Linked DNA regions of Homo sapiens: region 2 is linked to region 1. Evidence: promoter capture Hi-C in 16 types of primary human blood cells and fetal thymus (Javierre and others, 2016). All regions are on one chromosome and are shown on one strand. Each heading gives the region's core, a stretch centred on a gene start or on the middle of the fragment in contact. The rest is flanking DNA. Distances are from core to core; before and after follow the strand shown.

The links. Contacts are between HindIII fragments. The CHiCAGO score rates a contact against its expected background, and 5 or more counts as called.
Region 2: a fragment that was not itself captured here is called in contact with the fragment with the promoter of FRZB in region 1 in 1 of 17 cell types (neutrophils); the score reaches 5.6 in neutrophils.

Annotation. Positions count from the first base shown.
Region 1 is chr2:182,865,148-182,868,574 of GRCh38, forward strand. FRZB (frizzled related protein) reads right to left here and starts at 1,490. Exons shown (of 6, transcript NM_001463.4): 1 at 928-1,490. The coding sequence starts at 1,405. RefSeq lists an enhancer at 653-1,621. The HindIII fragment of the contact is 6,424 bases long and covers 1-3,427 here.
Region 2 is chr2:182,426,428-182,429,854 of GRCh38, forward strand. It overlaps PDE1A (phosphodiesterase 1A), which reads right to left and starts at 609. Exons shown (of 15, transcript NM_001363871.4): 1 at 151-609. The coding sequence starts at 203. The HindIII fragment of the contact is 3,073 bases long and covers 268-3,340 here.

The DNA.
Region 1 (3,427 bases), core at 240-2,739:
TGGTTGGTGCACACACGGAAAAGGAGCATGAAATAAGGTATTAAAGACAATTTTTTTTTCAAAACATGAGAGTGGAATAAGGGGTGAGATTTAAAATAACATTACGTGAGTGTATGATAACACGCCTTAAATATAACTCCTTTCATCTGTATGCCACTTATAAAATGACTTGAAGGCATGTGGGCATGTGAAAAGAGCTCAGTAATTTCAGTCTGCCAGCTCTATGGCAAGCCACAGAAGCTAATTAACAGTGCATAGCAATGTTTCACAATTGTTTCATTCTGGAATGGAAGAACAATTTATCTCATTGAAAGGAGGGGGAAATTTAAGGTGAAGGTAATTGCTCAAACTGGATCTTGAGCAAACACATACCCCTAACATCTGTCGGTTAGAGTAAGGTTATTGAAATTATCTTGGCATTTTTAATTAGAAGAAAATGGGGCTTCAGTTTTCTGTTTCCTCCACACAATCTTAACAAGCATCTAAGACACTAAAGATACAGAAACCTGATGACTGAGATTGCCTGAGAATCAGCAAAGAAAACCCAATGATTATAAACACATTTTAAAAGAAAAAGAGCATCACTTTACAAAATGTGGCTACTTGCACATGTAAGGAGTTGAAGTGAAGGATTCCTGTGGAGTAGAAGTGTGATGGGTTTGGAATGCATGGATTGTTTTAGAAAGATCGCCTATTGGAACACAGTGCCAGAGTGCATCAGTTTGGAAGGTGATAAGGTGAGGGTTTTTTTGTTTTTGTTTTTGAAAAAAGAAGAAAGAAGAAGAAGGGTCTTTGATAGAGGAGCAGTTATGGGAGAGATTAAGTGATCCGAAGAGAAAAAAATTAGAGAGTAAAGGCTAGTAACAAGGACTCCAAGAATTGAGGAGGCTGTAGGGTAAGGGAAGGGTGGGCCGTGTCAAAACTCACCAGCTCCGTCCGCAGTAACGATGGCCTCGGGAGAGATGCACACGCCCCTGTCGTACACTGGCAGCTCCTCGCAGGCCAGGTTCTCCGGCCACGAGTGGCGGTACTTGATGAGTATGGGCTCACAGCCCTGCCGGGCCCGCTCGCACACAGACTTACAGGGCTTGATGGGCTCGTGCTGGAAGTCAATGGTGCAGATGGGCGCGTACATGGCACAGAGGAAGAAGAGCAGATCGGGGCTGCAGTGGGTGCCCAGCAGACCTTCGAACTGCTCGATGGCCAGGATGGCGTTGGCCTGAGTGCTGTGGTGCAGGTGGTTGGGCATCTTAGTCATGTTCCAGGGCAGGGACTTGCACAGGGGGATGCGGACGGGCTCACAGGCTGCAGCCCGAGCCCCGGGCACCCGGAGCAGGCAGAGAGCAGCCAGGGCAAGCAGCCCGGCCCGCAGCAGCAGCATCCCTCCCGGGCTGCCGCAGACCATGATCCCGGCAGGATGGGGCAGGGTGCAGCCGCGCAGTGGACGCCAAAAGGCCCGCTCCGCCGTCTCCGCCTCCCCCGCTGCAAGTGGACACAAGGATCTGGGAGCTTCTCCTCCCCCGGCAATCACCGCTTCCTTGGATCAAATTCCCCCAATGGGGTCCCACGAGCTTTACCGAGCTCCAGCCACCGCCCCTGCCGCCCAGGCTGCTCTTTCCCAACGTCTAAGCCTTCGGAAGCAGCAACATCTATTTATTCCTCTCCCTCTGGCAGAAGCATCAGACTTCGCAGATCAGTCAGATAAGAGGGACACGAGAGGAGGCGAGGAAGACATAAAAACAAAAGTAGAATTCAGCTGAGAGCTAGTTGGAGCTCTGGGGTGTCTCCTCCCCTAGATCACGCACACAAAAAGATGCTAAAGAAAGCATTAAATTCCCCAAAGTGAGGAGGACAGAGGGGTTGGGGGGAAGGAGGGAGGAAAAGCTCCTAATGGGAGAGAAGGGTGCAGTAAGAGTTTACAAGTCCTGTGTGGGCTAAGAGCTGCGGCCGCCGCTGCGGCTGCGACCCTGGCTGGCAGGAGGGACGCTCAGGAGGAGCCCCGCAGGGACGTCTGTGCCTCTGCCCGGGCGGCTCTGCACTTTCCTACCTCCCGCCTGAGAGGGAGCTCCGCCCCTGGGGCAGTCTCTGCCCTCCAGTGCCGGCTGCTCTTCCCGAGAATGGAGTGGGCGCCCGGGGAAGAGAAGGCCTGGGAGTCGCAGGCGGTGGGGTGCGAAGCCGTGCGAGTGCGAGACCCCAAGACAGCGCCGAGTCGAGCGCGCCCTCACACTAGGGAACCCGTCTTTGGCCCCAGAAACGAGCCCCTAGCCCCTCACTGAAGAGCCCACCCCAATTCCCTACGGAAAAGTCCCCCTAGTTCCCCACTTGGGAACCCACCCGAGACCCTCCTTCCTGGAGGTATTTCCTTTAAGCAAACTACAGCTTTTCCTCTGCAATCACTGGCTCTGCAGAAAGTCAGACCTGGTGGGGGGAAAGGCTTAAGCAATGTCACTTTGTCCAAGTAGCGGAAAACACAGACCCCTGCGAGCAACGGTGGAGCCATATCAACCCAGAGCTAGTGACTACAGAGGTCTCCATTTTCAATAACTGCGGGGGAGGAGGTGGGGGGAGGATTGCCTTTAAAAAAAAAAAAAAAGAGAGAGAGAAACAAAGAAATGCTGTTCATGACTACAAATAGGCCACCAGAAGCAAGGAAAAGGGGTTTTTTCCTTCTATTCCCGCCCCCCCCACCTAGTGGAATTAGAACTCTTGAGCTTTGCTCCTTAAGGGTTAACGTGGAAACTAACAGCTCTAATACACTTGGACTTTTTTTTTCTGATTTTGCTCACGGATAACATGGCAGATATTATTTGTTATTCTCAGCAACAATTCTGCCCGACACTTAAAAAAAAAGTGTAGGAAAACGACATCACGCAGGTAATAATGATGATTATAACAACAATCAAAACCTTTCCATCCAGATGAGTTCAATCTGGAGGAGAAAATGGAAAACAGATCCCCTCCTGGTCTGCTTCTTCCACTAATGAGCTCCCTCTTCCCCCCACCCCCGCCCCACTCTACCCTTTCAGCTTATATTGTAAATGGAATGACCTGCAGAGGCCTTCACACTATGCCCTCTCAATGGGAAATCACTGAGCAAAAGGATTGCCGAATGTCAGAAAACACAGCCTTCATTGAGAGGAGAAGGAAACAAAACCTGAAACAAAACAGGAAGTCACCTTTGCTCTGCATCACTGAAATATTTCTCTGCTTCAATTTAGCCATCTCTCACCGTCCATAACAAGCAGAGAAATATGTCCCCACTTCAGAGCACATAGTGAGATGCTCATTTTCATTCCCTAGAGTGACTTGACAGCACTTATAAAATGTCAATGCTAACTTGAGTTATGGAATTTTATATCTAAAATGATCATAAACAGCAGTTTGTGACTGCTGTAAATTTTTTTGGAAGGAAGTTTGTTCCACTTAT
Region 2 (3,427 bases), core at 554-3,053, 440 kb before region 1:
AAAAGGCTCCCTCAGTATGCCTGAAGTTAAACTTTAAGCACTCTTGATTGCTCTGCTGTAGCTTAGTGGCAGAATCCCCAAATTAAGGATGAAGGGAGAAACTATTGTTCCTGACAGCCCTAGAGCCACCTGCGATGTAGCATTACTTACCTAAAGATGGGTCTTTGGAGATGTTTCTTCCTGATTGTGACATGGTCATCCATTTAAAGGTGAAGGTTTAACTTCTTCCTGGAAACCACTCCAGAAACTCCAGAGAGGAAATGTGGAAGCTTATCCTGATCTATTGTGCTGCAAGGAGCCCAGAAAGAAAAAGTAGTTTCCTCTTTCTCTTTTTGGGTGCTGGGAGAAAACTTCCCTGTTCTCTGCCAGCTGAGCAGTGTGTCCATAGAGGCCACATAAGACAGGCACGTTGGGGCACTCCCCCACAGAGCAGGGTGTGCAAAAACCACCAAGAGTCACGTTGATCCAGGCAAGAGAAGTGCACGGGACCCTCCGAAACAGAACAAAACAAACAGAAAACTTCCTACCCCAGTGTCATCCAGGTAGGAACTCCCTAAGTTATTGCAGCCATGAGAGCTCTCCTTCCACATGCTGGTCAAGCTCCGAAAGGCTAAGTCCCTCCCTGTCTTTAAAACAGACTGTTCTGAGGCTCAACTTTTTTTCTTCAAAATAAAAGTTGTACAGCTGGTTCAGCAGCCCCATGTGAGTACCCTCTGAAAGTTTGTTCTCTTAAAATAAGAACTGTATACAAATTAATGAAGAAAGATAGGCTCGGGTTGCATGGCTGGCTCTGCTTCAGATTATAATTATTTTACAATCTTGCTTGTATTCATGCTGGCTGAAGTGTGGAGACGACTCATCATTTTTAGCACTTATAATCTAATAACCTCCTCTTGGCTGAAGTTGAAGATGCCATATCAACTGATAGAAGCCCATGCGAAGCTGACCAGAGCTACAAAAGTTAGAAAAACAAAAATTGCTAATTTCTACTGGTGACATTATACCCAGATGTCTGTACCCAAATGTGGTTTCCAACTAAGAGGAAACATCTCTTGCAAAAAAGAGATGGAAACACACACACACATCCACATGCTTTTTTTTAACAAAAAGCCCCTCCAAAGTGCCTGGGAGCCTATGGTTTATATATTATGTGATGAAATTTGGATTTATAAAAGTAAAAGGAAAGAAAAGAAGGTATAAAAGAATTTGTGAACAGCTGAAAATAAATGATATTAAAAATTGTTTTCTTTTAGAAGACAGATTTACACTGCGGGAACTCTTATTCTAGCTCCAGATAAAGGGAATGCTCGTATTTTAATGTAACTTATTTTGGAGACCTTCCTGTATCTGAATCACTAACAAAGTTCCTATTCAGTCAATAATGTCATAAGATTCCAGGTCAGAGATTTGTAATAAACTAAATCATTTCAAAGCATGATTAGAATGTTTTTAATATATACATGTAATAAAAAGGGAAAAATGAGTAACGTGCATGCCTTTAGTTGAATGATCCATAAAAATAAAGATCAAATGTCACAAAGGAGGATACTATCTGTAGTTATTGGCACTCTCCAAATACTTCCAGGGAGAAAGATCACCTTTTTATTTTCCTCCCTGAGGAGAGATAAGGAAGGAGAAGAGAGTTATAAGGGAATCATGGATTTTATCGAGCCGTTCTAATCCAAACTAGGAAATGTAATCATTATGAGAGCATTGAACTAAAAATAAAATAAATGGGTTCTAGTCCTAGTTCTATTGCAAATATGCCGGGCCACTGTGGGCAAATTTCTTGACCTGTCTGAGACCATTTTCTTGTTTGTAAAATGAAATTATAATATTAATTGAATTCTATATTTCTTTCCAGCTTTAATGGTACTATCATGTTATTTCTAAATCTGATTCGCCTGCTTCTTGCAAAGAAACTGCCATAGAAGTTATGATGCCTGATACTTCAAAAACTACACACTTATTATGTACTGTTATAAATAAATAAGGAAGCTATAAATAAAAAGATGATTTTATATTATGTATAACATATTTATATAGATATTACATAGTTATGTAGTGACATCTATGTCACTGTTCTCTTTATGATCAATAAGTACCAATGATAAATTCACATGTGTGCTATACAGCAGTTAAATATACTGACCATGTATAAACAAACTTAGATACAGATCTTTGAAGCAGATGCTTTATTATTACCATATGCTTTGGCTTTCTTTGTATTTAGGAAAGCACATAAGAAATAACACATTGTACAGGTCTTCTGGGAGGGATTTTGCGTTTGTGGGTAGCATTCAATTTCTGTAGTCATGGTTTACCTATATTACCATTAATATAGCATAAATCTTCCTCCTGAGGGAAAATTCAAGAAAATAATAAGCCCATCAACTTTTAAAAATTAACTTTCATTTTGTCTTCTTTTGAATTGGAAATGTGAGACAATTTCTACATGAACACAATGGAGGGAACTCAACATAAATACTAATAAACATCTAGCCAAGGTACAGTTCAAACGGCAAGCAAGTATGAAATATAGCTTGAAGTCCAAAGGCTTGATTACCAGCTGAAGAATCTGAAAGTTGTTAATCATAGGAAATCCATAACATACTTCATTACCTTAGGTTTATATTCTTTTTTCTTTCTGTGATTAAGTTAGAAAGTTTAGATTCACTTTATGGAAAGCACTATATTTAAAACCAATCTGAGACCCTATAAAGCATTCAGATGATACCAGTAAATTAAATATTCACTGGGCACAAAGAAAAATATATATTTCTTAAATGTTTTTATTAGCTTTTTCTCAAAGAACATTTAAATTTAACATTGGAAAAAAGTTGGCTTTATCACCTTATTCAACTTTAATGTAGTATTCAATAAGACAAAGATTTCATGATTATTAATTAAATTACTAAAATATATTCCTTACATTAACACAACTGTAGTGTGCAAAATACTAAAATATATGGCATAAATAAAAAGGCCAAGTCTTCTATACAATAGACTATAATTTATTATGAATAGTTTTTTTCCTGAGGGGGGTCAGAAAGGGTGTTTTTATTTTTCCTGTTGTGGAAAAACAAAGTCAGGCTGACTTAGTCTAACACGTTCACACACATACCCTACCCGACTCAGTGCTGTTAGAAATCGTCCTAACTGGTGCTCAATAAATATGTTAATTTTCTAAAACACAAATCAGCTGAAACACACCAAGAATTCCATCTAACCAACTCATTTTGTGTGACAAAACACATAGATCAACCCATGTGACTTTTCCAACCAAAAGTACCCTAAGAGTGTCATGGTATTTTCCATTAAGCATCATGGAGAAAAGGTAAGCTTTTCTTTTCCTGATTTTCTTCATTGTTATAGTCTGGCTGTGTTTGTAATACACAAGTGCCAAAGCATGCAATGGCAAAAAGGT